Regions from separate parts of the Homo sapiens genome. Here all the other regions are linked to region 1. The links are contacts of gene promoters, found by promoter capture Hi-C in blood cells and fetal thymus (Javierre and others, 2016). All regions are on one chromosome and are shown on one strand. The core of a region is centred on a gene start or on the middle of the fragment in contact, and the rest is flanking DNA. Distances in the headings are between cores, read along the strand shown. Region 1 holds the start of KCNH3 (potassium voltage-gated channel subfamily H member 3). Region 2 has its middle 6.9 kb from the start of SPATS2. Region 3 overlaps SPATS2 (spermatogenesis associated serine rich 2). Region 4 overlaps SPATS2 (spermatogenesis associated serine rich 2).

Region 1 (7,679 bases), core at 2,713-5,212:
CTGTCTCTCCATATTCCTTTTTGTAGCTAATACTCCCACAGGCCTCCCACGGCAGCTCCAAAATGCAGCCTCCCGAGTTTCTTGTTGACAGAGGCTTTGAGCATCTCTGAACAGGGATCCTCCTCAACATTCCCCTCCCTGTGACTCCCCACCACGGCCAAATGCGTCAAGAGCTGGCGGAAGGGGAGAGGAAAAGGAGTTACAGTGAGGAGGACTATGGTGCCCATCTCCCAGGGCCCTGCTCAATTTTCAACTCCCCAATGCCCGTCTTACTCTCTCCTAAATGTGGGTCCCTGCCCTTTGTGCATGTGGGTTGGGGGCTGGAGGAAAGATGGAAGGAAAAGATAGGGAATTAAAAGAATAAAAGAGGACCAAGCAAGGTGGCTCATGCCTGTAATCCCAGCATTTTGGGAGGCCGAGGCAGGTGGATCACCTGAGGTCAGGAGTTCAAGACCAGCCTGGCAACCCAGGTGAAACCTCGTCTCTACTAAAAATACAAAAACTAGCTGGGCATGGTGGCAGGCACCTGTAATCACAGCTACTCGGGAGGCTGAGGCAGGAGAATCATTTGAACCCAGGATGCAGATGTTGCAGTGAGCCGAGATCATGCCATTGCACTCCAGCCTGGGTGACAGAGCAAGACTCCGTTCAAAAAAAAGGAATAAAAGAAAAAACATAAAAATTAAAAAAGAATAGAAAAAAAAGATAGGGAATTGTGACTAAGAGCTGGGGGAATCCATACAAACAAAAGCCAGGTCTGGCAGGAAGATCTGAGGGACTGGGTAAAGGTGAAGAGAGAGGATAGTGGGCTGAGATCCTGTGCCTGATCACGCTCATCTAAAACAGGCCACATAAAGGAAAGGGTCAGTGGCGGTACCCCCTCCCAGTACGCATTCACATGAGTTCTTTGAGGGGCAATGGGGGAAGGGGTTTAAAGGCCCAAACAGGCCTTTGACTTTTCACTCTGCAATAAGAATGGTAATAACATTCCATAAATATTAGTGTATTTTCTTCTCCTGGAAGTGGGAACCAGGGCAGCAAAGGGTGACATGGGCATTGTGCCTGGAGCTGCTGGAGGAGGCAGTGCACCTCAGACTAGGGACTTGACCTCGCTGCCCCAAGTTTTTCATCCGTGAATTGGCAGTTATAGCTAATAACTAGCTCATAGCGTTATTATGAAGATTAATGGGACGATCCAAGTAAAGCACTTTGCACAGTGCCTGGCACAAAGTTAATGCTCAATAAGTGTAAGCTGCTGTAATCCTCAGGGGCACCCCACACATTCCATCTCACCCTGATCACCCTAACCCAAGGTGTCTGGTTTGGCTTAATGCCCAAAACCAGCCCCAGCAGGTGAGCTGGAAGCCTGAAAGTCTAAACACTTAGGCCTTACAGGGATAAGTGTAAGGCCACCCAGACATGCTACACAAGCCCAGATGACCAGTCCTCTGAGTGCCCACACAGTTAGGCTAGAGAGAGGTAGACCCAACGACCTAGGGCTGGGAGACTGTCAGGGTTCTAACCCTGGCTGTGTCATTTATCAACTCTGTTACCTTGAGCAAGTCTCTCTCTCCCTCCTCCTCCCCCTCCTCCTCTTCTCCCTCTCCCTCCCCTCCTCCTCCTCCTCCACCTCTTCTTCTTCTTAACTTCTTCCTTCTTCTTCCTTCCTCCTTTCTCCTTCCTCCTTTCTCTCTTCTCCTTCTTCTCCTTCTCCTCCTTCTTCTTCTTTCTTCTTTCTTCTTCTTCCTCTCTCCCTCTCTCTCAGCTCTGGTTCCTCCTTTGTGAAATGGAGCATAAGGAGCCCCCACCCTGGCTGTTTCACAGGGCTCCTAGGAGACTCAAAATCAGACAACAAACATTTACATGTTGCAGGTGTCACACACTGTTCTAGATCCTCTACACATACTCACTCATTGAATCCTCATTACGACCCTCTGATGTTATTATTAGCATCCGCATTTTACAGATGAGAGAACTGAGTCAGAGAAGGGTTAATAACTTGCCTTTAAAAATCACACAGACAGGCCAGGTGTGGTGGCTCTCGCCTGTAATCCCAGCACTTTGAGAGGCTGAGGCGGGCAGATCACCTGAAGTCAAGAGTTCGAGATGAGCCTGGCCAACATGGTGAAACCCAATCTCTACTAAAAATACAAACATTAGCGGGGCGTGGTGGCGCATGCCTGTGGTCCCAACTACTTGGGAGGCTGAGGCAGGATAATTGCTTGAACTTGGTCGGCATAGGTTGCAGTGAGCAGAGATAGCTCCAATGCACTCCAGCCTGGGCGACAGAGGGAGACTCCGTCACAAAAAAAAAAAAAAAAAAAAAAAAATTCACACAGACCAAAATTAAAAAAAAAATTTAATCACAGGGACAGCAAGTGGCAGACCTGGTTCCCAAGTGGGTGGGTGATTTCAATTGTGGCCTTATCCTGTCTCAAAGTGAACTGACTCCTAAAATGTCCTTCTTTTTAGTAGACAGCTGGACCGCCGCCTGGAGAGGAAGCCTTGAACGGCTGGGGGAGGGGATTACTTTACAGCCAGGATCCAGCCAAGGCTGGGGATGAGATGGGAGTAGGATCTCCCGACTCCTTAGGGTCACTCCTCAGGGTCACTCCTCGTCCTGGGGACCAGATTCCAGGCTTCACAGGACCGGAGAAGGAGGAGCGCGTCCTCCCTTCCCAAAGCGCCAGCTCATTTAGATACAGGTGCCTGGGGCTTTGGCTCTCGTCGCTGATGAGGGGTAGCATCTTTCTGATGCTGGTGACTGTGAGTGCGTCTCGAGGGATGGGGGTGCTGAGCCTACCGCTTCGCTCGTTAGGGAACAAATTGCTGTTTTGGCCCCGGCGGCTCCTCTGGGCGCGGGCGGCAGCCGCGCTCGCTGGCAAATCGTGGGAGGGAGGAGGAGCGGCGCTGGCAGGCAAGTCCGGGGGACCGTCGCAGCGCGGGAGGCCAAGAAAAGACGGCCGCCCCGGGCCCGGCTCCGCCCCGCCGGGAAGGGGCTCCCTGCAGCCGCCCCAGGGCAGCACCCCGCGCGGCGCCGCGCGGAGCTCTCCAGGACGAGCTGCGTGAGGCGCGGGGCTCGGCCTTCCTCGCTCTCCTGGTGCCAGGACCCGCACGCACAAGGTTCGGAAGTTTTTTCGCAGTGTCTGACCCCTGCCGGTCCCCTGTATTTACCACCTGACCCTCTAGCGCGCTTAGGAGAGGCAAGAGGTGACAAATGCCAGAGGGAAATGGAGGGGCAGGACAAGGGGTCTGGCGCTCCCCTCCCCACCACACACCCTTTCCGCCCACGGGGTCACACGGAGGACGTCTGACCCTTACTCCTAGGGCTACCCACCCTCTGGTTTCCAGGCAGCTCCTGCTTGCGGAGACACCTCATAGGAGCAGCTGGATCCATTTTCCAGAGCGTCAAGTTGAGGATGAGAAAGTCTCGAGGGCCGGGCAGCTGTGCGCGCAGAACCCCCGCCCCATCTGCTTTTAGATTTCCCGGGTGCGGCTGGAGCCCCTCTAGAGCGCCGGCCTCCGCTGGCCGCAGGGCCTTCACCTGCGCCTGTCGCCCTGTCCCCTTGCCCACTGCATTTTCCTCGGGGAGAGCATCTTCCACAGCATGCGTCCCCTGCCCCCCACGCCCCGAGCCCCCCTCCCATTCCGCCGGGGGAGGAGAGGCTGCTAGGAGGCTCTCGGAGAGCCCCCGGGCTGCAGAGAAAGACGCCTCCCCTCTGCGGCTGAGGCCGAGTGAGCCAAAGGGGGCCGGCCGCTCGCCAGTGGTTCTCCGAGGTACGGGCGGGGAGGCCCGCGGGGTGGGATCAGGGCGGCCGCCACCTCCCCGCCCCCGCCGAGGTCCCGAAGGGAGGGGAGCCCTCCGCGGGAGGCCTGTCCCTTTAAGGAGGCGGCCCTGGCTGGGTGTGCCCCGTCTCCATGGTTACCCCGGTGCAGGCGGCGGGCGCGGGAGGGAGGGAGGGAGGCTGCAGCTTCTCCCCGACAGACGGAGGGAGCTGCCGAGAGCCGGCGCCGAGCGAAGCCGAGCGGAAGCCCACCCGCAGCCGACACGCGAGCCGCTGCCGCGGCGGGAGGTGCTGAGAGCGCGGCGGCCGCGGGGCCTGGAGCCCGGGATTTGTGGGCGGCGAGGGCGCGAGGGGCCGCGCGCCATGCTCCGGGCCCCGACGGCGCGGACGCCCCCTCGCGCGCCAGCGTCCGGCGCGACCCCGGATCCCGGTCTGCGCATTGCCCCCCGACGGCTGCGCTAGGGAGCGCGGGGCCCGGCGGGGGGCGGCCGAGCTGGGCGCCCTCCCCCGGCGCGGAGTCCCCGCACCCCGGAGGGATGGGGCGGGCAGCCGCGGGCGCCTAAGATGCCGGCCATGCGGGGCCTCCTGGCGCCGCAGAACACCTTCCTGGACACCATCGCTACGCGCTTCGACGGCACGCGTGAGTCCGACCCTCGCCCACTTGCACCCGGGCCGCCGGACCCTCGCCAGGGCTCCCGCCTTCCCCGAACCCCCAGCAGCCCAGCTTGGCGCCAGCCTATTCTCACCCTCTCCTCCCTACCCGCCCCTCTTGAGGCTGGGGCCATCGTCTCCTGCTAGGCGCTGTTTCCCCGAAGGTTCGAAGGTTCGGGGTCAACACTGCTTCAGGCGAGGCAACAGGGCCAGAAGTCCCTGGGTGTGGGTCCTGGGATGCTCTCTGTTAGCCGGGTCTCGAACCCGAACCTAGTCAGTCTGACCCATCCCACCCCTGCGTCTGGCGCTGTCGCAGCAACTACCCTCGGACTGGTGGGGTAAGGCGAGGCGGGTGAACAGTGCTCAGGGACAGCTGAGAGGGCTCAAAACACAGATTTAGAAAAGAGATTTGCAAACGGAGATAAGAGTAGGCGGCACTCGGGAGAGCACCGTGTGTCCAAGCCCCGTGTCTCATAGCCTGAACCCCCTAGACTTGGGGAGGCCATCTAGCCCCAAGAAGATGGTTTGGGGACTCCCATCAGGACTGGGGAAGTTTGGAGAAGGCGCCCCGAGCTCTGGATCCCCGGTTCTGGGGGCTCTGAGCACAGGGGAAGTGATGAAAGCCCCTCCCTCCTCCTCTCCCTCACATCCCCCGTGGGGCTTCCCAGCTCTCTGCCTAGGTCCTCCTTGGTCTCCGGTTCCTGATAGGGGGTGGGAGCCCAGCCCTGCGCTCTCCCCACTCCGGGCTCCTCCATCTGCTTTGCCAGTGTGCTTGGCTCCTGCAGCCTGCTGATTCAGTGCCCCCCACTCCCCAATACATTCCTGGCTCCTGGCTCCCGTGCTCAGTCACCATTCTTACACCCCCATTCTTGATCACATTCACTAATTCCTGAGCCAGGTCAGGCAGCTAGGGCTAAAACACAGACAGCAGGATGTATGGTGGTCTGGGGTTGCCTCCAGTCTAGGTGTGTCTCAGTGGGAGAAGCCAGACAGCCAACCTGGGTACCTGGCTAGTGGGTGAGCCTGGCAGAAGTAGAGGTGGGGCTGAGGCTGGCCCAGAGCTGGCAGGGCAGTCCTCATTAGGGATTCCCCAATCCCAGCCCTTACCCCACATTGCTCAGGACACCCTCCAGAAGGCACAGTGCCCGCACAGCGCTTCATTCACCGACCTCAGTTCACATGTGCTGATCCTTGAATGTACTCACACCTGCTGCAGGGCACTGACAAACAGGTGACACACACTGATTGCTATTCATAAACAGCCCTGCCTTAACACACGCAGGATTCCTGGGGTTTGGAAAACCCACTCTTTGGTTGCAGGCATTTGAGAAAGGAGGGGTGGTAGGCCTCCTGCCCCTTCACCCCACGCCTCCTCTGAGAAGTGCTCTCTTGCAGACAGTAACTTCGTGCTGGGCAACGCCCAGGTGGCGGGGCTCTTCCCCGTGGTCTACTGCTCTGATGGCTTCTGTGACCTCACGGGCTTCTCCCGGGCTGAGGTCATGCAGCGGGGCTGTGCCTGCTCCTTCCTTTATGGGCCAGACACCAGTGAGCTCGTCCGCCAACAGATCCGCAAGGCCCTGGACGAGCACAAGGAGTTCAAGGCTGAGCTGATCCTGTACCGGAAGAGCGGTGAGGGGCCACCTGGCCAGCCTGCCTCACCTTTGCAGTCTCACCCAGCCTGGCACCAGCCCCATCCACTGTCCCTCCTCCTTTCTGTTGCCATCTTCTCCATCTCCCCATGTCATCCCATCTTCCCATCCCCCCATCCAACCCCTCTTGCTCCATCCCACCTCTTGCCCCGGCTCCCCATCTCTACCTGCCTCACCCTAGCCTCAGCCTGCATTCAGTTCCAACCTCGGGTTTCCCGCATCCAACAGAAAAACATCCGCATTTCGGCAGGGCAGATCTACCACACGACAGGTCTGACCGTCATGTTTGCTCTCCCTTGCTTCCTTCCCCCAATTCCATCAAGCCCTGCCTTCAGTGAAACTGGACTGCCAGCCCTTCCCCCAGGAAACCGCTAGATCCTGCCTGTGTCTTGCCCGGGATGTCAGTGGAGCCAGGGCCTCTGTCACCTCAGGCAGTGCTGAGAATAGGAGGTGGGCTGAGTTTGTTTTTGTGCCCAGGGCTCCCGTTCTGGTGTCTCCTGGATGTGATACCCATAAAGAATGAGAAAGGGGAGGTGGCTCTCTTCCTAGTCTCTCACAAGGACATCAGCGAAACCAAGAACCGAGGGGGCCCCGACAGATGGAAGGAGACAGGTAGGTGCATGTAGGTGCTGTGGTCGGGGTATTGGGTGCCGCAGGCCCGGGCGGGGCCTTGGCACCCAGTCTGAGTACGGGGGTCCCCCATGCACCTGCATTCATTTCACTCCCACTCAGGCTGCCTGAGAGGCCTGTGCTGCTCTCATCTCCACATTCCTCGGTATGGGAATATTTTTTCCAAATAGACAGATTGAGACAAAGTTGGAGTTTTTAAGTCAACTTTATTAAGAAACTGAAAGCAAACAAACCCAATTGTACCTGTGAAGCAGGTACTTTCTGACCAGTTAATAAGGTTGAGCACAGACCCACCAGGTTCCTCTTTCCTACAGCAAACCTGACTGGGGGTGGAGCTCTGGGCAAAGCCTGCTTTTAAGTTCTTCGAGTCTTTCCCCTCTTGTGTCCTCCAAGGCTGGGGCAGGCCTTTGGGCAGGTTACAAAGCTGTCAAGGCCTCTTTGCCATTTGGGGATGCTGGGGGTACTCTCCACTCCCACTCGCGTACTCCCAGTGCTGGGTCTGCCTCTCCATGATGTCAGCCTTCATTGTCACCCTCTGGTCCCTGCACTAGCTCCTGGGCTCCTGCTGTAAGTTCCCACACCTCTGCTGACGGCCTCCTGCTAGTTCTCCACCCTGGCCCTGTGAGGTACCTCCTCGCTTCCTGTCCCAGGCCTTTCCCCGTAGAGATCCTCTGGTCCAAACCTCCTCTTCCTGGAAGCAGACCCCAGAGGTAGTGTCTGTAAACACTCCTAGGACTGCCCATTGCTGGGCTGGGCAAGTGAACCCAGGAAGTGAGGAATACCTGAGCCCCCAACTCTAAACATTCTAAGTGGTCAATGAGCCAGACCAGTCCATGGGCCAGCAACTGTGTCCTACACCTGACCCGGAGCTAGGGTGTGTGGGCACACACCCATCATCTTCATGGGCCCCTCTTCTTTCGCAGGTGGTGGCCGGCGCCGATATGGCCGGGCACGATCCAAAGGC
Region 2 (7,679 bases), core at 2,274-4,773, 180 kb before region 1:
TTCTGGACCTGCCATCTCTTGCTACAAAGAACATAAAAAACCAAAAACCATTTCTTGATGAGATTCTGCCCTTCATCTCCTATCTCTCTAAGTCTTTCATTTGCCACATTTACCATCACTTTGTTTAAGGAGGAGGCACTGTAGTCCGAGTGAGGAGGGATGAAGAGGTGAAGAGATGGGTCTCTACTTCTACCTCTTGCATTGACCATACTGGTGACTTTGGGTGAGCCACCTTTCCATTAGGGCCTCTGTTTCTTTCTTGTCAGGTGAGGGAGATGGACTTAGATGACTTAGATGATTTTTTTTTTTTTGAGACGAAATCTACTTTGTTGCACAGGCTGGTGTGCAGTGGCACGGTCATAGCTCACTGCAGCCTTTACCTCCTGGGCTCAAGCAATCCTCTCACCTTGGCCTCCCAAAGTGTTGGGATTACAGGCATGAGCTACTGACCCCAGCCTAGATGACCTTTAAGCTTGCTTTCAACCTGCATTCTGGAGTTATTAGCTTTTCAGCTGAGGTTTTTATTAAATGGTTTTATTTGTCATCTTCTGTCTGCCCCCTTGTGGACATTGTTTTGGGAAGAAAATAAAATATTTAATTGCTCGAAGAACAATATAATGACCATCTCACCCTCCAAAAATTCACTTGCATCACACTGTTTGTTTTCAGTTATTCATGTTCACTTCTAGTCGTCGTTCATAAATGTACATCATTTTACATGGTTGAATCATATCAGGGACATAATTTTGTACTTTCCCCCCTCCCTGATAAAGATGATGTTTTTACAGTAAAATAAAAAAATGCTTGTGATTCAATAAGCTTTTAAAATATTACTATAAAGACTTTGTTATTATATATATTTAATTGAGATATAATTCATATAGCATAAACTTCACCCTTTAAAAGTGTACAATTCAGTGGTTTCTGATAGATTCACAAAGTTGTATAATTATCACCTCTATTTAATTCCAGAATGTTTTACCACCCCAAAAAGAAACTCCATACTCATCAGCAATCACTCTCTGTTTCCTCCTCTTCCTAGCCTCTGCAATCACTGATCTGCTTTCTGTCTCTAGATTTGCCTATCCTGGACATTTTATTTAAATGGCATCACACAATATGTTGTCCTTTGTGTGTGTCTGGCTTCTTTCATTGAACATAATGTTTCCAAGATTCAAATATGGGCTGGGTGTGGTGGCTCACGCCTGTAATCCCAGCACTTTGGGTGGCTGAGGTGGGCGGATCACGAGGTCAGGAGTTTGAGAGCAGCCTGACCAACATGGTGAAACCCTGTCTCTACTAAAAATACAAAAATTAGCTGGGTGTGGTGGCATGCATCTGTAGTCCCAGCTACTCAGGAGGCTGAGGCAGGAGTATCGTCTGAACCTGGGAGGCGGAGGAGGTTGCAGTGAGCTGAGATTGTGCCACCGCACTCCAGCCTGGGTGACAGAACGAGACTCTCAAAAAAAAAAAAAAGAAAAGAAAAGAAAAAATGATTCAAATATGTTGAAGCATGCATTATCATTACATTTTATTTTTTAATAACACACCATTATATCTTAAAGCTGTATAATATTCCCTTTTTGATAAACATTTATATAATGTTGTTGTAAATAATGTGGCATCGATATCTTCATGGCTCTAATTCATCTCTTCTCTTGAATTATTTCCTTAGAATAAATTCCCATGGGTGGGATTACTGGGTCAAAGGGTATGAACATTTTTTATAGCTCTTGTCAATATTGCTCTTAAATTGTGGTGCCCAGAACTAAATGCAATTCTGAGACGTGTTCAGACAGAACGGGGTACTGTGGGGCTGTTACGTTCTCAAGGTCTGAACAATATATCATCCTTTAAATCCAGCAGCCTAAAAATTTACTAGCTTTTTTTGGTTGCTATGTAAGTGTGACTCATTGAGTTTATAGTCAACTGAGGCCCTTAGATCTTTTCCTAGGCACTGTGTCTTAGAGCTATGTTTGCATCTACTCTAGGACCCAGGAGGCTTTTGAGGACTCACTGACTTTAGTACTCTATGTCTTAGTTTTCTTTTCTCTTGAACAGTGGGGTGGTCCTAACAAGCCTGGAGACGTGTGGTTTGTTGTAGTCTTAGCTAGGAACTGCAGATGGCGCTACAAGGCTGTCATGGTAAAATATGTCCCTCGGCTGTCCCCTTCACTTAAAAAAAAATGTGGTAGTGGCACCTCCATAGCAGGTTCATTACCAGAGTTCAGTCCTCTCCTTTTGCTGAGAAGGAGCAAGCAACTGTGAAGTTGGATTTGGGGTGTTATTCAAAGCAAGCTCCAACTGAAGCATGCTTTTCAGTTGTCATTTAATCTCCTAGGGGAATCTAGAGCTGTCTATTTCATGTTAGAACTTTGAACGCACATCTCATGCCAGTGCTTTGGCTTTTGAAGTTCCCACCCTGAGAAGGTGATTTAAAATGTTTTTCTTTTGCTTCATGTTCCCTGCAGTATTTCTGTTAGTCGCCTCAAGGGATTAAAAGTTGTTCAACTGTTTTGTTTTGTTTTGTTTTGTTTTTGCTAAGATGAGTTTTGAGCAATAAAAGTAAAAAATTTATGTAGGGTTCCAGCTAAAGATACTTCATTTCAATAATTTGTTCTCTCTTTTCTTTCTTATTCTTCTTTTTCCCCACCTCTCATTCACCCTTTCCATAGTCCATCTGGTTATTTGCAAACTATTATGACTCTAAGCAAGGATCTTGGACTTTCTGGGTTTAAACGTTACTGACAAGTTTCAACAGAACAAAGCAGTAAAACAGTGCCCTGTATGGGAAACTTGGAAGGGAATCTTTTTTTTTTTTTTTTGAGACGGAGTTTCGCTCTTGTTGCCCAGGCTGGAGTGCAATGGCACCATGTCAGCTCACCACAATCTCCACCTCCCGGGTTCAAGCGATTCTCCTGCCTCAGCCTCCTGAGTAGCTGGGATTACAGGCATGTACCACCACACCCAGCTAATTTTGTATTTTTAGTAGAGACGGGGGTTTCTCCATTTTGGTCAGGCTGGTCTCGAACTCCCAACCTCAGGTGATCTGCTCGCCTTGCCCTCCCAAAGTGTTGGGATTACAGGCCACCACTCCCAGCCCAGAAGGGAATCTTTTAACCCATTCTGTGCCAGACCTCAGTCCCAATTCTGGGTTGAGAAATGTTGTGGGGAACATCTGCTGGGCAGTGACTGAGTCAGCATGTGAGCCTGGCTTTGCAAGCAACACCTAAAAGGGCATTTTTCCTAGAATCAATGGCTCAGGCACATTTCAGGTGAATTAGTACCAGAAAAGGAACGGGAGCTGGGTGTGATGATGGGCGGAGGCGGGGGGATCACTTGAGCCCGGGAGTTTGAGGCTACAGTGAGTTATGATTCTGCCACTGTACTCCAACCTAGGCAACAGAGCAAGCCCCTGCCTCAAATAAATAAATAAGAAATTTATTAATCTGTCTCAAGAGTGGGGAAAAAAAAGGCCAGGCATAGTGGCTGATGCCTATAATCCTAGCACTTTTGAGAGGCTAAGGCAGGAGGATCACTTGAACCCAGTGGGGAAGATTGCTTGAGTTTGAGACCGGCCTGGGCAACATGGGGAGACCCCATCTCTATAAAAAAAAAAAAATTAGCCAGGCCTGGTGGCTCACACCTGTAGTCCAAGCCACTGGGAAGGCTGCAATGGGAGGACCAGTTGAGCCTGGGAGCTGGAGGCTGCAGTGAGCAATGATCCCATCACTGCACTCCAACCTGGGCAACAGAGTGAGAACCCTGTCTCTTAAAAAAAAAAAAAGGAATGGGGCTTGGCGCCGGTGACTAACGCCTGTAATCCCAGCACTTTGGGAGGCCAAGGCAGGTGGATCACGAGGTCAAGAGATTGAGACCATCCTGGCCAACATGTGAAACCCCGTCTCTACTAAAACTTCAAAAAAATTAGCTGGGCATGGTGGCGCACCTGTAGTCCCAGCTACTTGGGAGGCTGAGGCAGGAGAATCGCTTGAACCCGGGAGGTGGAGGTTGCCGTGAGCTGAGATCGCGCCACTGCACTCCAGCCTGGGTGACAGTGCGAGACTCTGTCTCAAAAAAAAAAGAAAAGAATGGGAAGGGGTTGTGGGACATAAAACGTCTTTGGTTCAGGTGTTTCCCAGTCACAGATCTGAGGGCCACTGAGGCTTGTTTTACTCCCCCACCCCTCCTTCCATATCCTTACCCACTTTAGACGTGGTTTCTCTTGCTTTTTCCTCCCTTTCCCTCCCATGAACCACAGGAGAGAGTGTACGTTTAATATTCAGTAAATTTGATATTCAGTGCCTGCAAACTTACTTCGTCTTAGCAGTTGACTTTTCTTGCACAGCCAAGATGACTGATCATTTCAGACCCATCTCCCTTCAGGCTCTAATTCTTCTCCATCAATGTGTTTGTTTTGATATTTCTGCCTTTGGTTGATGTTCTTCTTCTTTCCTATAATTATTTTTCCTCTCTGCTAAATCTTTTTTTTTTTTTTTTTTTGAGATGGAGTTTCGCTCTTGCCCAGGCTGGAGTGCAGTGGTGTGATCTTGGCTCATTGCAACCTCCGCCTCCTGGGTTCAAGTGATTCTTGTGCCTCAGCCTCACGAGTAGCTGGGATTATAGGCGCCCGCCACCACGCCAGGCTAATATATTTGTATTTTTTGTAGAGACAGGATTTCATCATATTGGCCAGGCTGGTCTCGAACTCCTGACCTCAGGTGAGCCACCGGCCTCAGCCTCCCAAAGTGCTGGGATTACAGGCATTAACCACCATGCCTAGCCTTGCTAATACAAATCTTTACACTTCTTTTATGACCTAGCTTAAGGTTTATCCCTAAATGATGCCTTTGCTGATTAATTCCACCTCTAGTAATCTTTGCCCTTTGAATTCCTTCTGTATTCCCATCTAGTTTGTACTGTTCTATCAATAAGTTTCTTGCATGTTGCCATATAAATTGTTCTCTGTCTCATGTTTGCAAGTCTTCTCTTCTTAACTATACCAAAGCTGCTTGAGGGCAAGTGACTGTGTCTTCTCCTAATGTAAATAGCAGGACATTTATTAAATGTGCAACCTAGGTAAATTATTGAAAAATTTTGAGCTTCAGTTTCCTCATTTGTTACATGAGGACAATGATGCCTGCACCACACAATGTTCAGACAATCAAATGAGACAATGTGTACAGAGTGCTTTATGAAGTATAAAACATTTGACAGAAGTGAAGCATACTATTTTTTTAAAGTGGTGACAGAATCTATAAATGAAAGATAATTTAAAAACTTAATAAAAGAACTTAGAGTACAGCAATATTAGTTACTATCTTACACATAGGACAAATTCACTTAATATCAAAGTCAAGTCTTAATGAACCTGCAAGGCTCACATTGAACTGAATTTTTCAGATCTGAGTTTTGGGTCCAGCATTGCCAATAATTTTGTGATGTAACACTTCAACCTTTGATAGTTTAAGGCCTTTCCCAGCTTTAAATATCTGATACACAAGTGAAAATTTGGGTATGTTAGCCTTGTTTTTGGGCCTCAGTTTTGTTATCTGTAAAATGGGAAATCTGACCTAATTAAACCATTTTAATTGAACTTTATACAATGGATGTTCAAAGACACATTAATTCTGCAAAAAAGTCTTGGGGGTGGGGATGGGAGTGGGAAGAGCTTCCTTGGGGAAAGCTGCACACTACATAGCCTGCTCGCTTCAATATGAACAAAGCATGGTATCATATTAAATATTCTGGGAAGTAAATACACCAGTTTAACTTGATTTTAACCTGTGCTTCCCAAACTTAATTGGACATGGAATAGTTTTCTCAGATAACATCTATTTAGTATCCCATGAAACGAATTTTCTGAGGCACACTTTGGACTGCTAACATGAATATTCTTAGGTACTAGGGTTAGTATAGGCAAAAGGAAAAGTACAATCTTATGAGCTGTTCTCTACTGGTTTTTGTGCCTGTTGTCACTTGCAGCTTCAGTCAATGGAAACTTTAAAACATTATGTTTCTTAATTACAGTCATTGGTTATCAAGTCTCCAAGATAATAAGTTAAATTTTTGTGCCTCTCAGGCTCTAGTTGGCCTCTTTTTCTTCCTAATAAAAACATGGAATCTGGCAATCAATTATTTAAGATACAAAATATCAAGTCAAGGATCCATTTGAAAACATATCAAATTAGGTCAGGTTAATACCTGCAGAATATATCTGCCAAGGTGAAGCTTATGTCATGATTTCTCTCTAATTCTAGTTCTGGCACTTGATCATTAAGTAACATGGGATAAATTAATTTCGTAAGGCTGAACAGAGGCTAATGGATCTCATTTGAAAATGATCTTTTTCTTTTTTAACCCTTAACATCTATGCTAAACATTTCAGAAATTTGGTTATTTTTGTGTTTTCTTCAGCGTAGGTCACAAATATTATATTTTGCATTTATTGCAGCATTTATTTTCCTCCAAAATAATTTATACATGCACTTTGAACAATTTGCAATTATTTCAAGGCAGGTGACGATAAATGTTTTATTGTGAAGTAAAACATACACAGTATGCCGGGCGCGGTGGCTCATGCCTGTAATCCCAGCACTTTGGGAGGCTGAGACAGGTGGATCACCTGAGGTCAGGAGTTCGAGACCAGCCTGACCAACATGGAGAAACCCTGTCTCTACCGAAAATACAAAATTAGCCGGGCGGGGTGGCACATGCCTGTAATCCTAGCTGCTCAGGAGGCTGAGGCAGGAGAATCGCTCGAACCCAGGAGGTGGAGGTTGCGGTGAGCTGAGATCATGCCATTGAACTCCAGCCTGGGCAACAAGAGTGAAACTCCGTCTCAAAAAAATACATAAATAAACATACACAGTAGAAAATGTATGTGCATTATAAAGAACAAAAATAGGCCAGGCCTGGTCAAGCCTGTAATCTCAGCACTTTGGGAGGCTAAGGCGGTTGGATCATCTAAGGTCAGGAGTGCGAGACCAGCCTGGCCAACATGGTATAAACCCCATCTCTACTAAAAATACAAAAATTAGCTGGGCTTGGTGGCAGGCGCCTGTAATCCCAGCTACTCGGGATGTTGAGAGAGGACGATTGCTTGCACCCGGGAGGCAGACGTTGCAGTGGGCTGAGATTGGGTCATCGGACTCCAGCGTGGGCGACGAGAGCAAAACTCCGTCTCAAAAACAACAACAACAAAATTAATATTTGTAACCCAGGTCAAAAAATATTTTTGAAACATTTGTTCAATGTCCCTTTAGAGAGGTTGAGTGCTGCATGGAGAAAGGGCAAAGGTGGGCCATGAGTTGCAGTACCCCTTTTGCAAACCCCACTCAGCAAGACATATGCTAAAGCAACCTGCTCTCCTTGGAGGAGAGATATTTTTTGAGTAAAATCCTTGTGAGGAGGTCATGTTTACTACCACCCCAGGGGCTTAGCAAAATGTGCCTTCCAACCACACCCCAAACTTTCCCTTGGAGGAGACTTGTTAAATGCAATATTCTCCATCTTGTTAGATTTCCAGTGATGTTTTAACAGCTCTCATACCCTAGGGTGCTCCTTAATCTACCTCCCTTCTCTTGGAGAAGGCTATCCACATATACAAAGTGTCTCCTAGCCGGGTGTGGTGGCTCAGGCCTGTAATCCCAGTGCTTTGGGAAGCCCAGGAGGGAGGG
Region 3 (7,679 bases), core at 2,076-4,575, 160 kb before region 1:
CCTCCTGAGTAGCTGGGATTACAGGCAAGTGCCACCACGCCCAGCTAATTTTTTGTATTTTTAGTAGAGAGGGGGTTTCTTCATGTTGGTCAGGCTGGACTTGAATTCCCAACCTCAGGTGATCCACCCGCCTCGGCCTCCCAAAGTGCTGGGATTACATGCTTGAGCCACAGTGCCCAGCCTCACATTGCATTTTCTAAATGTTACATGGAAGTTAATTATCCCTGCATCTTGCTTCATGATATTATTGGGTGACATAGTTACTTCAGGCTCATATGCCATTTTCTGGGGGCCTTATAGGAGACTTTGTGAGCCCACACTTACTTTGTAGGTGGTCTGTCTGAAACCCAGTCCAATTGCCATTCAGTTGAATTGAATCTGAAATATTTCTAAAGATTTGATGTTTGTTGGGGGCTGGGCATGGTGGGAGGCCACTTTGACCTCAGTCCTAGCACTTTGAGAGTCCAAGGTGGGAGGATTGCTTCAGACCAGGAGTTTGAGACCAGCTTGGGCAACAGCGAGACCCTGTCTCTGCAAACAATTAAAAAATTAGAGCTGGGCATGGTGGCTCAAGCCTGTAATCCCAGCACTTTGGGAGGCCAAGGTGGGCGGATCATCAGGTCAGGAGTTCTAGACCTGCCTGGTCAATATGGTGAAACCCTGTCTCTAATAAAAATACAAAAATTGGCTGAGCGTGGTGGCATACACCTGTAGTCGCAGCTACTCGGGAGGCAGAAGAATTGCTTGAACCCAGGAAGCAGAGGTTGCAGTGAGCCAAGATCATGCCACTGCACTCCAGCCTGGGCGACACTGCGAGATTCCAACTCTAAATAAATAAATAAATTAGCTGGTCATAGTGGTTGGCGCCTGTAGTCATAGCTTTTCTGGGGAGGATGAGGCAAAAGGATTGCTTGAGCCCAAGAGTTTGAGATTGTAGTGAGCTATGATCATGTCACTGCACTCCAACCTAAACAACAGAGACCCTGTCTCTAAACAATAAAAAAAAAAAATTGAAGTTTATAAATATGTTATTATTTTTTAATTTTTATTTTTTTTGGAAACAGGGTTTTGCTCTGTCACCCAGGCTGGAGTGCAGTGGTGCCATCATAGTTCACTGCGTCCTTGAACTCCTTGAACTCAGGTGATTCTGTCACCTCAGCCTCAGTAGCTAGGACTGCAGGCACACACCATGGCAGTCAGCTAGTTTTAAAATTTTTTGTAGAGACAGGGTCTTGCTTTGTTGCCCAGGCTGGTCTTGAACTTCTGGGTTCAAGCGATCCTCCTGCCCTTGGCCTTCCGAAGTGCTGGGATTACAGGTGTGAGCCACAGTGCCCAGCTCACTTTATTATCTTTAGCCACTGGATATTAAGGATAGGCCAGAAGCCAGCATTTACTCTCCCATGTTCACATCTACCATGGCAGCCTATAGGAATGGGTTCCTGAAATATATACCATCTTCTATACAGATTCTTCAGTAGTTGCAGGCCCTTGAAACATTCTGCAGGGTCTGAGGATATAGATGTTACTTAAAGGTAACTTCTGCAGCCATTGTCCTATGACTAATTTGTGGTTAAGACATAAGTTGAAGGCTGGGTGCGGTGGCTCACGCCTGTAATCCCAGCACTTTGGGAGGCCGAGGCGGGCAGATCACTTGAGGTCAGGAGTTCAAGAGCGGTCTGGCCAACATGGCGAAACCTCATCTCTACTAAAAATACAAAAATTAGCCGGGTGTGTTGGTGCATGCCTGTAATCCCAGTTACTCAGGAGGCTGAGGCAGGAGAATCACTTGAACCTGGCAGGCGGAGGTTGCAGTGGGCCGAGATTGTGCCACTGCATTCCAGCCTGGGAAACAGCGAGGATCTGTCTCAAAAAAAAAAAAAAAAAAAAAAAAAAAGGCATAGGTTGATTGGAGGTTTTGGGGGATCTCCAAGGGTTACACAGGGATTCTTAGCAGTCCAAATCCTATAATAAATAACAACCTTGGATTGCTGGTAAGAAGGATGATTTTTACATTACTTAATTAACAAGATGTATGATTGCAAGTTGTGGAGTGTGTGTGTGTGTGTGTGTGTGTGTGTGTGTGTGTGTGTGTGTGTGTGTGTGTGGTGGTAGTGGTCTTTAGAATTTGCTAAAGGGTATTAGGACGGAGGAGAAGGATGTTTGTGATGAGGCCATTATATGATTGTGAATGAGCCAGGATAGATAAGTAAATATCTTTTGTACTTGAAGATGCTGCCAATGATATTACTTCTTACTGACCTGGATAGGACTGAAAAGACCAATTTGTAAAAGCTGCAGTCTTTCCTATTTTAAATAACTTGCTTTTGTTTTAAGGCTACCCTCTGTAGTTGAGCAGTACTTTTCCTTACATTATCCACTTGGTCTCTGATCATAGCATGTCAGTGTGGTTAGCCCACTGCTGGCTCTTCCTGGCCTACTGTTAAAAATGATTCAAAATGTACATTAGTGTGTGGCAGAAGTGACTCTTCTGCTTACCTTGTTTGGATATCTAGTTACATTTTTATAGTAAATTGCTCTTGTAATCTACCTGCATGTCCTGCAGGAGCCCTTTGTATAGCATGCCTTCATAAGAAGCTTTGTGACATGTGATGAAAACAGTGAAACTCATCTGTAACTAATGTAATGACGGGAAGTTAATGTATTGTAGCTGAATGGTAGGTGGGACATAACACTGCAGATGAAGCCAGCCATGTAGCTTAAACTTCTTTTTTTTTGAGACAGGGTCTTGCTCTGTCTCCTAGGCTGGAGTGCAGTGGCACAATCTTGGCTTACTGCAACCTCCACCTCCCAGGGCTTAAGTGATCCTCCTGCCTCAGCCTCCCAAGTAGCTGGGAATGCAGGTGCTCACCATCTGGTACTGCTAATTTTTAAATAGAGACAGGGTCCAGGCTGGTCTCAAACACCTGGCCTCAAATGATCCTTCTGTCTTGGCCTCCCAAAATGCTTGGATTACAGGCATGAACCACTGCACCTGGCCTGATTTTTTTTTTTTTTTTTTTTTTTTTTTAAGATGGAGTTTCACTCTGTCGCCCATGCTGGAGTGCAGTGGTGCAATCTTGGCTCACTGCAACCTCCGCCTCCCAGGTTCAAGTGATTCTCCTGCCTCAGCCTCCCGAGTAGCTGGGATTACAAGTGCCCGCCACCACGCCCAGCTAATTTTTTGTATTTTTAGTAGAGACGGGGTTTCACCATGTTGACCAGGCTGGTCTTGAACTCCTGACCTCAGGTGATCCGCCTGCCTCGGCCTCCCAAAGTGCTGGGATTACAGGCCTGAGCTATCACGCCCGCCCCTGATTTTTTTTAAGTCAGAGTCTTGCTTCGTCGCTCAAGTTGGAGTGCAGTGATGTGATCATGGCTCATTGCAGCCTCCAGATCCTGGGCTCAAGTGATCCTCCCACCTCAGTCTCCCTAGTAGCTGGGAGTACAGGCTCGTACCACCATGCCCTGCTAATTTTTAAATTTTTTATAGAGACAGGGTCTTGCTATGTTTCCTAGGCTGGTCTTGAATTCCTGGCCTCAAGCAGTCCATTGGCTTTGGCCTCTCAAAGTGCTGAGATTACAGGTGTGAACCATTGTACCTGGCCGGTGTTTTGTTGATTTTTTTTTTTTTTTTTTTTTTTTTTGAGACGGAGTCTCACTCTGTCGCCCAGGCTGGAGTGCAGTGGTGCGATCTCAGCTCCACTGCAACCTCTGCTGTCCGGATTCAAGCAATTCTCCTGCCTCAGCCTCCTGAGTAGCTGGGATTACAGGCTCCTGCCACTGTGCCTGGCTAATTTTTGTATTTTCAGTAGAGACAGGTTTCACCATCTTGGCCAGTTTGGTCTTGAACTCCTGACCTTGTGATCCGCCTGCCTTGGTTTCCCAAAGTGCTGGGATTACAGGCATGAGCCACCTCACCCAGCCCAGTGTTTCGTTAATCTTATCAGCACACAGGAGGTTTTCTTTCTTCTTTTTTTTGTTCATCTAGAATATACACACTGAATACACTAGGTTTGTTGAAATGTCTAATTTCTTAAGTTGATAATGCTTTAAACAAAGCTTAGTTGGTTAATGTTTTTCACCTCTGTTATTACTCAAAGGTTGTATTGTATCTAGGAATTTTAAAAGTTGATATTTGGCATTTGTCATTAGCCTACCAGTCCATAATGTTATGATGATCCTATAAATTAGACTATAGGATATTATTATATGATATTATTGTAATTTGGGAGCACAGGGAACAATGCGTAACAACGACTACTAAATGTGTGTTCGGTCTCTAGCCTGATGAAAAAGCTTCTGAAAAAAGGAAGGATATTTGATACTTTCATCCTGATTACTTGTTACCTGAAATCTTAACATTTCAGCAACATTAAGTAGGATTATATTCAATTTTTATATGATTACATTTTTCATTGGGCAGTAAAGCTGAGAACACATCATCCTTTCACACTGTACGGGCTAATTATTTCCATTGTGAAATAGCCCCAAGTATATTATTAACCTTTTTGGTAGCTGAAGTTTCTGATGCCTGAAATGTGTATCTACTGAATGGCGTTAGTTATGATCAGGCCAGTATTGATAGTATAGTTATAATATTTCTATATATAATATGATCAGGCCAATATTGATAGTATAGTTATTTCTATGTATAATATTTCCAATATTTTTCTTTTAACTTATTAAAATAGGGAAGCTGTATGAGATGTTAGTTAAAAGCACAAGCCATTGAGTACACAAATCTGGCTTTGAATCTACTCCCCTACCTACTCCCTTGGTCAAGTCATTTAATTTCTCTGAGCCTATGTTTCTGTATCTGTAAAATGGATGCAGTAGTAATCCTACTATAGAGTTGTCATGATTGTTGCATTTTGTTTTATTTTATTTATTTATTTTTTGAGACAGAATCTTGCTCTTGACACCCAGGCTGGAGCACAATGGCACGATCTTGGCTCACTGCCACCTCCAGCTCCAGGGTTCAAGCGATTCCCCTGCCTCAGCCTCCTGAGTAGTTGGGATTATAGGTGCTCGCCACCATGCCTGGCTAATTTTTGTATTTTTAGTAGAGATGGGGTTTCACCATGTTGGCCAGGCTGGTCTCAAACTCCTGACCTGATGATCTGCCCGCCTCGGCCTCCCAAAGTGCTGGGATATTTATTTTGAGTTAATGTTTATTTTATTTTATTTTATTTTATTTTATTTTATTTTATTTTATTCTTCTTTTGAGACGGAGTCTCACTCTGTCACCCAGGCTGGAGTGCAGTGGCTCGAACTCGGCTCACTGCAACCTCCGCCTCCCGGGATCAAGCGATTGTCCTGCCTCAGCCTCCTGAGTAGCTGGGACTACAGGCGCATGCCTCCACGCCCGGCTAATTTTTTGTATTTTTTAGTAGAGACGGGTTTCACCGTTTTAGTCAGGATGATCTCTATCTCCTGACCTCATGATCTGCCCGCCTTGGCCTCCCAAAGTGCTGGGATTACAGGCATGAGCCACCACGCCCGGCCAATTTTATTTTTTTTTTGAGACAGGGTCTAGCCCTGTCGCCTAGGCTACAGTGCAGTGGCATGATCATGGCTTACTGCAGCCTCGACCTGCTGGGGTCAGGCAATCCCCTTGCCTCTGTCTCCCAAGTAGCTGGGACTACAGGTGGATGCCATCATGCCTGGCTAATGTAAAAATTTTTTGTAGAGACAGGATCTTGCTATGTTGCATAGGCTGGTCTTGAACTCCTAGGCTCAGCTATCCTCTGGCCTCAGCCTCCCAAAGTGCTGGGATTATAGGCATGAGCCTCTGTGCCCATCAGATTTTATTTTATTATTTTTATTTTATTTTATTTTATTTTTGAGATGGAGTCTCCCTCTGTCGACCAGGCTGGATCGCAGTGGTGCGATCTCGGCTCACTTCAACCTCTGCCTCCCGGGTTCAAGTGATTCTTCTGCCTCAGCCTCCTCAGTAGCTGGGATTACAGGCATGTGCCACCATGCCCTGCTAATTTTTAAAAATATTTTTAGTAGAGACAGGGTTTCTCCATGTTGGTCAGGCTGGTCTTGAACTCCTGACCTCATGATCCACCCACCTCGGCCTCCCAAAGTGCTGGGATTACAGGTGTGAGCCACTGCGCCTGGCCCCAGATTTTATTTTTGAGTTGAAATTCATATAACATAAAATTAACTGGCCGGGCATAGTGGCTCACGCCTGTAATCCTAGCACTCTGGGAGGCTGAGGTGGGTGGATCACGAGGTCAGGAGATCGAGACCATCCTGGCTAACATGGTGAAACCCCGTCTCTACTAAAAATACAAAAAAATAATTAGCCGGGCATGGTAGCGGGTGCCTGTAGTCCCAGCTACTCAGGAGGTTGAGGCAGGAGAATGGCGTGAACCCGGGAGGCAGAGGTTGCAATGAGCCGCGATCACGCCACTGCACTCCAGCATGGGTGACAGAGCGAGAATCCGTCTCAAAAAAAAAAAAAAAAAAGAAAACAAAAATTAACCGTTTTATGTCCTACAACCATCACCTCTATCTAGTTCAATTTTTTTTTTTTTTTTTTGGACGGAGTCTTGCTCTGTTGCCCAGGCTGGAGTGCAGTGGCATGATCTCCGCTCACTGCAACCTCTGCCTCCTGGGTTCAAGTGATTCTCCTGTCTGAGCCTCCCGAGTAGCTGAGACTACAGGCACACGCCACCACACCTGACTAATTTTTGTATTTTTAGTAGAGATGGGGTTTCACCATATTGATCAGGCTGGTCTCAAACTCCTGACCTCAGGTGATCTGCCCGCCTTGGCCTCCCAAAGTGCTGGGATTACAGGCATGAGCCACTGTGCCTGGCCTATTTCAGAACTTTTTCATCACCCCCAAAGGAGACCCTGTATTCATTAAATATTTACTCTTTATTTCCTCCTCTCATCTCTGGCAACCACTGATTTGCCTTCTGTCTATGTGGATGTACCTATTCTGTATATTTCAAATAAATGGAATCACACAATATATGACCTTTTGTGTCTGGCTTTTCTGACATAGCATAATGTTGAGACTTAACCACTGGTCTCATGTATCAACCTCATTCCTCTCTCTCTTTTTTTTTTTTTTTTTGAGACAAAATCTCACTCTGTTGACCAGGCTGGAGTGTAGTGGTGTGATTACAGCTCTCTGCAGCCTCAAACTCAAGTGAACCTCCCACATCAGCCTCCCAAAGGGCTGGGATTACAGGCGAAAACCACCATGCCTGACCGAGAACCTCATTCCTCTTTATGGCTAAATACTAGTCCGTTGTTCAGATATACAACTCTGCCTTCAATGCCTTCCAGGTCATTTGAAAAAATCTGTTTATTGGCCATGCACGGTGACTCACACCTGTAATCTCAGCACTTTGGGAGGCCGAGGTGGGCGGATCACCTGAGGTCAGGAGTTTGAGATCAGCCTGGCCAACATGGCAAAACCCCGCCTCTATTAAAAATACAAAAATTAGCCAGGTGTGGTGGCGTGCGCCTGTAATCCCAGCTACTTGAGAGGCTGAGACAGGAGAATCACTTGAACTCGGGAGGCAGAGGTTGCAGTGAGCCGAGATGGCACCACTGCCCTCCAGCCTGGGAGACAGAGCAAGACTCTGCCTCAAAAAAAAAATATATATATATATTTATCTATTTATGGTTAGTTGTGTCTTTTCCACCTTTGCCTA
Region 4 (7,679 bases), core at 3,591-6,090, 140 kb before region 1:
GTGATCTTCCTGCCTCAAGTGATTTTACTGCCTCAGATTACATGCGTGAGCCACTGCTCCTGGCCAGCCCTACAACTTCTTTTTCAAAGTCGTTTTTACTATTCCAGGACTTTTGCATTTTCATATGGATTTTAGAACTAGTTTGCTGGGCTGGGAGTGGTGGCCCACACCTGTAATCCCACCACTTTGGGAGGCCATAGTGGGAAAATTGCTTGAGCCCATGTCACCTGGGCAACATGGCGAAACCCTGTCTCTACCAAAAATACAAAAATTAGCCGGGCTTCATGGTGCACACCTGCAGTCGCGGCTACTTGGGAGGCTGAGGTGGGAGGGATCCCTTGAGTTTAGGAGGCAGAGGTTGCAGTGAGCTGAGATCGAGTCACTGCACTCCAGTCTGGGGAACAGAGCAAGACCTTGTCTCCAAAAAAAAAAAAAAAAAACAGAACTAGTTTGCTGGATTCTGCAAAAAAAGTCTGCTGGGATTTTGATTGAGATTGCATTAAATCTATTGAATCAGTTTGGGGAGAATTGGCATGCTGACAACATTGAATCTTCTAACCTATGACCAGATAGATATATAACTCCTTTTATTTAGGTCTTTAATATCTCTCCATGATGTGTAGTTTTCAGTGTTCAGATCTTTCACATCTTTTTTTTTTCAGATTTATCTTTACAAATTTTATATTTAATGCTTTGTATTTATAGTTTTAATTAGTGATTGCTTGTTGCTAGTATATAGAAATATAATAGATTTTTCTGTATTGACCTTGTATCCTGCAACGTTGCTAAACTCATTTATTATTATTTTTTAGATTTTATCAGATAGTTTTTTCACAGATGATCATGTCATCTATGAATAAAGACAATTTTAAGGCCGGGCGTGGTGCCTCACGCCTGTAATCCCAGCACTTTGGGAGGCCGAGGCAGGTGGATCACCTGAGGTCAGGAGTTCGAAACCAGCCTGGCCAACATAACCCTGTCTCTACTAAAAATACAAAAAAAAAATTTAGCTGGGCTTGGTGGCAGAGGCCTGTAATCCCAGCTACTCAGGAGACTGAGGCAGGAGAATCCCTTGAACCCAGGAGGCGGAGGTTGCAGTGAGCCGAGATCCCACCACCGCACTCCAGCCTGGGCAATAGAGCGAGACTCTGTCTCGGGGGATAAAAAAAGACAATTTTATTTCTTTTTCTTTTTTCTTTTTAATCTGGATTCCTTTTAATTTTTAATTTAAAATTTTTTTAATTTAAAGTATTTTTTTATTTATAGAGATGGAGTCTTGCTATGTTCCCCAGGCTAGTCTCAAACTCCTGGCCTCAAGTGACCTCCTGTCTTGGCCTTCCAAAGTGCTGGGATTATAGGTGTGAGCCACTGTGCCCAGTCTTCTTTTATTTCTTTTTCTTGCCTGATTGCACTGGCTGGGACCTCCAATACAATGTTGAAGAGAAGCAGTGAAAGTAAATATCTTTGTGTTGTTCCTATCTTAGAGACAATACTACCTTGTTTTTCAGATTTTTTTTTTTTTTTTGAGACAGAATCTCACTCTGTTGCCCAGGATGGAATGCAGTGTCATGATCTTGGCTCACTGCAACCTCCTCCTCCATGATTCAAGTGATTCTCCCGCCTCAGCCTCCCGAGTAGCTGGGATTACAGGCGCCCATCACCATGCCCACTAATTTTTTTGTATTTTTATTAGAGATGGGGTTTCACCATGTTGATTAGGCTGGTCTTGAACTCCTGACCGCAGGTGATCCACCCGCCTCAGCCTCCCAAAGTGCTGGGATTACAGGCATGAGCCACTGTGCCCGACCCAGATTGTTATATTACTTCTTTTTGGTAGTAAGAACACTTAACATGAAATCTACCCTCCTGACAAATCTTTTGTTGTACAATACTGTAATATTAACTATAGGGACAGTGTTTTACAGCAGACCTGTAGAACTTAATTAGCTTGTGTAACTGAAACTTTATACCCACTGAATAGCAACTCTTTGTTTCCCCCTCTTCCCAGCCCCTGGCAACCACCATGCTACTTGATGCATCTGTGTGTTTGAGTATTTTATATACCTCATATAAGTGGTATCATGCATTATTTGTCCTGTGACTGGCTTTCACTTAGCATAGTGTTTCAGGGTTCATCCATGTTGTCACATGTGGCAGGATTTCCTTTTTTAAAACTTAATATTCCATTGTATGTGTATACTATATTTTCTCACTAATTCATCCGTTGATGTACATTTAGGTTGTTTCCACATCTTGGCCATTGTGAATAATGCTACAATGAACGTAGGAATGAAAATACCCCTCAAGATCCTGATTTCAGTTCTTTTGGATAAATATCCAGAAGTGAGATTAGTGGATCATGTCATATGTTTTCCATAGCAGCTGCACTGTTTTACATTCCCACCAACAGTGTACAAGGGTTTTAGCATCTCCTTGTCTTCATCGTGTTCTTATTCTTGGGGTGCTGTCTTTGATTGCTGATTTCCTCGTGGGAGGTTTGTTTCTCTGTCTGTGTATGTGTGTGTATTTTCTTTAACCCTGAACTTGAGTCCTATGTACCTCAGATTGTGGAAGCTTCCCTACTGCATAGTTTCTCCTTTGCTTCTACTATGGTACTATTTCATTCTTTAGTTCTGAATCTTATTTATGATAAAGTGTCAGCTTGGGGTCCCTCTACCACATGTGTAGTATGAATTTAGATCTCACATCTGTGAATGGTGCAGGACTAGGATCCAGTTTCTTCCAGGTAACTTTTTCCATTCCTAGTCCCAAATGCAAGGCTTTCTCTTCTCCTAGCTAGAGAGCTGTTTCTACTTCGCATTTCATGGATGGAGCAGTCCTTTTTGTTTCTTAATTTATGCTCAGTTCCATCTTGTTTTGGGCTGAGTACATGGCCTGTGGCCTAAACTCTTTTGTAACTCCTAGCGATTCAGGTATTCATGTGTATCATTTGTCTTCAGCTCTGGACTTCAGCTCTGTAATAGCCTTTTAAATGAGCTCCTCTGATTCCACTCTTGTACCCCTAATAATCCATTCCCAACACAGTGATCATTAATATATTTACATTTTAGTGCCTGTGTTTTTAGCTTCATCTGGCACCATTCCTACCCATGCTACCTGGCCATTTATTTCCCTAATGCCTTGTGTTCCCACTCGCTACAGGGCCTTTGTACTTGCTATTCCCTCTGTCTGGAATGTTCTTCACTGCCACCACCTCTTCTCTTATCATTACCTTCTCATCTTTGGGCTCTGACCTCAGTTATCACTTCCTGAGAGAAGTCTTTGCTGACTCCTCAGTTTGTTTCAGGTTTCCTTCTCCCTGTGGATATCATAGCATCCTAAGCTTTATTTTCATGGCATGTATCATAGTTTTTTATTAGAATGTAAACTGTCTGAGGGTAGGGACTTTGTCTTGCTCATCACTGTATTTCCTGTCCTGAGAAGAGTGCTTATACAAGTAGATATTAAAAAGATGTTTGCTGAGTGGGTGCATGTATTTGAGCGGTTTCCTCCATTAGACTGTAAGCTAGGAAAGTGCAGGACAATTTTGTTTTGCTCACTAGTATATTCCCCAGTGCCTAGTATAGAATCTGGCATATTATAAGTGCTCAATAAATATTTACTGGCTGGCTGAGTGCTGTGGCTCACTCCTGTAATCCCACAGCTTTGGCAGGCTAAGATGGGAGGATCGCTTAAGGCCAGGAGTTTGAGACCAACCTGGGTAACATAACAAGACCCTATCTCTACAAAAAATAAAAAAAAGCTAGCTGGATATGGTAGTGCATGCCTGTAGTGTTAACTACGTGGAAGGCTGAGGTGGGAAGATCACTTGAGCCCAGGAGTTTGAGGCTGCAGTGAGCTATGATGGTGTCATTGCATTCCAGCCTGGGTGACAGAGTGAGACTCTTAGCTCTTTAAAAAAAAAAAAAAAAAAAAAAAAAGGATCCATTGGCCGAGCATGGTGGCCCACATCTGTAATCCCAGCACTGTGGGAGGCCGAGGTGGGCAGATCATTTGAGCTCAGGAATTTGAGACCAGCCTGGGCATCATGGCAAAACCCCATCTCTACAAAAAAATACAAAAATGAGTGGTGTGAGCCTGTGGTCTCAGCTACTCAGGAGGCTGAGGTGTGAGGATTGCTTGGGCCCAGGAGGTGCAGATTGCAGTGAGATCAAGCCACTGCACTCCAGCCTGGGAGACAGAGGGAGACCCTGTCTCAAAAAAAAAAAAAAAAAAAAAAAAAGAAAAGAAAAGAAAAATTTGATGGCTGACTGAATGAATGAATGAATAAGTAGTTTTAAATGAGGATGGGGGCCAGACTAGGGCCAGTTCATAAAAAATTTTATTTGCAATGCTAAGAAGCTTGAACTTGAACTTTATATAAGGGGGTTTTAAACAGGAGAATGACACGAACAGGCTTATGTTCAATGTAGAAGGATCCCCTCAGCAGTTATGTGGAGGCTGGTTGGAACGTTACAGAATATTGGTGTACTCCAGGGAAGATTGAAGTCCTAATAGAAGGAAGGTGGAATGGAGAAGATAAATTCAAGAGAATTTAGAAATAGGTTAGGCGGGATTGTATTGGATGAAGATGGGAGAATAAAGGGAAGAACGCATATCACTTCCTGGGTTTCTTGTTTGGGAGACCAAGTAGTGCCACCCACATAGGCACTATGGGAAGAAGGACAGGCTTGGGAATGGATGAACTTAGTTGAGATGTGTTAAATTTTCAAACATGAGAAATCTGGAAAATTTAATTGATGGTATATTTACTTGGATTACGGATATTCTTTTTTTCCCCTCACACACTTAATCCTTTATATGTAAATACAGAAATCCCACCAACCCCCATGTTTTCCAGAAAATGATTTGAGTTAAACAGCTCTTTTACTAGGAACATGTTCAATTTGAGTTTCCTGTGGGATATCCAGGTGGAGATGTACATTAGGTAATAGGGAGCTTGTTTGAAAAGGTCTATTTCTGTACTATTTCCTACAATTTCAATGAAAACAGCCTGACAATTTTGACTTTTTCTCTCTTAGGCTGTTTTAGCATGCTTTGTCTCCAGTACTTGCAAAGCTGCCCTAGATTTTTCTTCCTTTTGTTTTTGTCCTTCCTCTTTATTTTGCCTTTGCCAGACTCAAGGGCTTCTCACCTTCTGACCCCTGCATTTCCCCCATGTCCACATACGTTTTCGTGTCTTTTTTTCTAATTTTTTTCTCAAAGAGCATATAATTCTTTTTTTTTTCCTTTGGTTTTCAGGGTTCATTTTCATCAAAGTTATGTGTGAATATGGTTTATAGAATCAAATAGTTTTGTAAAGCTTGTTTTAAGAAAGCAGCACTCCTTCCTTTATTTCCCTTTTCTCAGAAGCACTTTTAGCTTTTTTAGTTAATATTTTTATCTCCATTTCTGTAATAACATACTTGTATTGCTATTTCTGATTTCATCAGTTGTAAGATACACCATTACTTGATGTACTACTAGAAAAGAGAAATAAGCCCAAGATGGATAGTCTATTAGGGGCCACGCATAAAGCTGGGAAACTACATGAGAATGGAAATGAGAAGTAAACCCACCATACAGAAAGGCATAGCAAGGCATCTTGTGTCTCAACTTTGATGGTGTGTAGGAGGGCTAAAAACTTTCATGGGAATTTAAACTGGTTCTAGGTCTGAATTCACACTCCCTATGTGGTACAACAAAATTTAAACAGAGATTCTAATTAAAAGTTGTTTCGGATTGGTAGTGCCCCAGGTGCTTGAAAGAAACAAATAGCAATTATAAGATGTCATTAATTGTGCCTGGTTTTCAGAGATGTTAAAATATGAAAAAAATGGCCAGGCGCGGTGGCTCATGCCTGTAATCCCAGCACTTTGGGAGGCCAAGGCAGGCGGATCACGAGGTCAGGAGATCAGGACCATCCTGGCTAATGTGTTGAAACCCCATCTCTACTAAAAATACAAAAAATTAGCCAGGCGTGGTGGCAGGTGCCTTAGTCCCAGCTACTCGGGAGGCTGAGGCAGGAGAATGGCGTGAACCCGGGAGGCGGAGCTTGCAGTGAGCAGCGATCACGCCACTGCACTCCAGCCTGGGCGACAGAGCGAGACTCCGTCTCAAAAAAAAGAAAAAAATATGGTACCATGTACCAGGCACTGTTAGAGTTACAGCTGTGAACAAAACAGACCTCTCTGTCTTCCTTGAGTTTATATTCTGGGGAGGGGAATGTTTTGACAAAGTAAGAATATACATGGTATACTAGATGTTGCAGATATCTAAGTAAGATGACTAAAAATTGACCATCAGATTTAGTAATTTGGAATTTCTTGCTGATCTTGATGGGAGAGGCTTTGGTAGGGTAATCAGGAAGCAAAAGCCTCTTGGGGTGATTTTGAATGGGAGGAAAGGAATTGGAGACAGTTACAGCTTCTTGGAGTGTTGCTGTGAAGGAGAGCAGAGAAATGGATAAGTAGCTGGTGAGGAAACTGGGGTTATGGCTTATCTTTTTCAGTGAGATAACTGAGAGTATGTTTCTACAGTGCTGATGAGGATGCACCAGTAGAGAGGGAAATATTGCTGATGCAGGAGGGAGAAAGGGGAATGACTAGGCAATAGGGTTTGGAGTCTGGTGTTCAAGTGGAGGAGTTGGCTGTAGATAGGAGCAGTCAGTTCATCTACAGTGCATAACAGGAGAGAGGACAGGGCAAATGGTGGTAGTGATTGCCTTCTCTTTCACTGAGGAAGTGGAAGGGCAGCAACTAGGAGTAAGCATGGACGAGGAAATGTTCATTGATAGCTTGAGGAAAGAGAAAATGGCATAAAATGTACCAAATAGAGGAGTGGGAGAATGAATGGATGAGGCAAAAGTTTTGATTGTCATGCTGAGCTAAGAGACCATTTGAAGTTAGCTGTTGTGAATTTTATGTGAGAACTGTTTAGTATGAATGTTTTATTTTTATTATTTCATTTTAATTTTGAGACAGGATCTTACTCCGTCAGCCAGGCTTGAGTGCCGTGGTGCATAGCTCACTGCATCCTTCAACCTCCCAGGCTCAAGTGATTCTCCCACCTCAGCCTCCCAAGTAGCTGGGACCACAGGCATGTGCCACAACGCCTGACTAATTTTTTTGATTTTTTTTTGTAGAGACAAAGTCTTACTATGTTGCCCAGGCTGGTCTCAACCTCCTGGGATAAGCTGTCCTCCTGTCTCACCCTCCCAAGTAGCTGGAACTATAGCCAAGTACCACCATGCCTGGCTAATTTTAAAATTTTTTGTAGAGACAAGGTCTCCCTATGTTGACCAGGCTGGTCTCAAACTCCTGGGCTCATATGATCCTTCTGCCTCTGCCTCCCAAAGTGCTGGGATTACAGGCATGAGCCACTGCATCTGGCTCTTTTTTTCCTTTTTAAAGCCACATTTAGCTGCATGGTGCAGGCATAGAGTAGATGGACAGCTGCATTTTTTTTAAACATGTTATTCAGGAAAATTTTAAACATACAAAAGTAAATAGAGCCCTCATGTACTCATCACCCAGTTTCAACAAATATTTACTCACTGCTAATCTTGTTTTATTTGTACCCTCAACCATTTCTACTTTTCCATATTATTTTGAAGCAATCCCAAACATCATATTTTGTGCTTAAATATTTCATGTTTCTCTAAAAGATATGAACTCTTA

What was found. The method cuts DNA at HindIII sites, captures the fragments that hold promoters and counts their contacts. A CHiCAGO score of 5 or more calls a contact.
Region 2: a contact is called between a fragment that was not itself captured here and the fragment with the promoter of KCNH3 in region 1, in 16 of 17 cell types (endothelial precursors, M2 macrophages, M0 macrophages and 13 more). The highest score is 16.2, in endothelial precursors.
Region 3: a fragment that was not itself captured here is called in contact with the fragment with the promoter of KCNH3 in region 1 in 9 of 17 cell types (endothelial precursors, M1 macrophages, activated CD4 T cells and 6 more); the score reaches 7.6 in endothelial precursors.
Region 4: a fragment that was not itself captured here is called in contact with the fragment with the promoter of KCNH3 in region 1 in 1 of 17 cell types (endothelial precursors); the score reaches 5.1 in endothelial precursors.

The regions. Positions count from the first base shown.
Region 1 is chr12:49,535,068-49,542,746 of GRCh38, forward strand. It overlaps KCNH3 (potassium voltage-gated channel subfamily H member 3), which reads left to right and starts at 3,963. Exons shown (of 15, transcript NM_012284.3): 1 at 3,963-4,425; 2 at 5,832-6,065; 3 at 6,563-6,697; 4 at 7,639-7,679. The coding sequence starts at 4,350. RefSeq lists silencers at 2,924-3,043, 3,774-3,953 and enhancers at 3,271-4,082, 4,083-4,892, 5,537-5,586, 7,393-7,679. The HindIII fragment of the contact is 19,285 bases long and covers 1-7,679 here.
Region 2 is chr12:49,356,714-49,364,392 of GRCh38, forward strand. No RefSeq gene overlaps it. Among named protein-coding and RNA genes, the nearest start is that of SPATS2, 6.9 kb to the right of the region's middle. The HindIII fragment of the contact is 5,412 bases long and covers 818-6,229 here.
Region 3 is chr12:49,373,092-49,380,770 of GRCh38, forward strand. The region is part of intron 2 of SPATS2 (spermatogenesis associated serine rich 2); the gene reads left to right. Among named protein-coding and RNA genes, the nearest start is that of SPATS2, 9.5 kb to the left of the region's middle. The HindIII fragment of the contact is 1,464 bases long and covers 2,594-4,057 here.
Region 4 is chr12:49,393,918-49,401,596 of GRCh38, forward strand. The region is part of intron 2 of SPATS2 (spermatogenesis associated serine rich 2); the gene reads left to right. Among named protein-coding and RNA genes, the nearest start is that of SPATS2, 30 kb to the left of the region's middle. The HindIII fragment of the contact is 961 bases long and covers 4,361-5,321 here.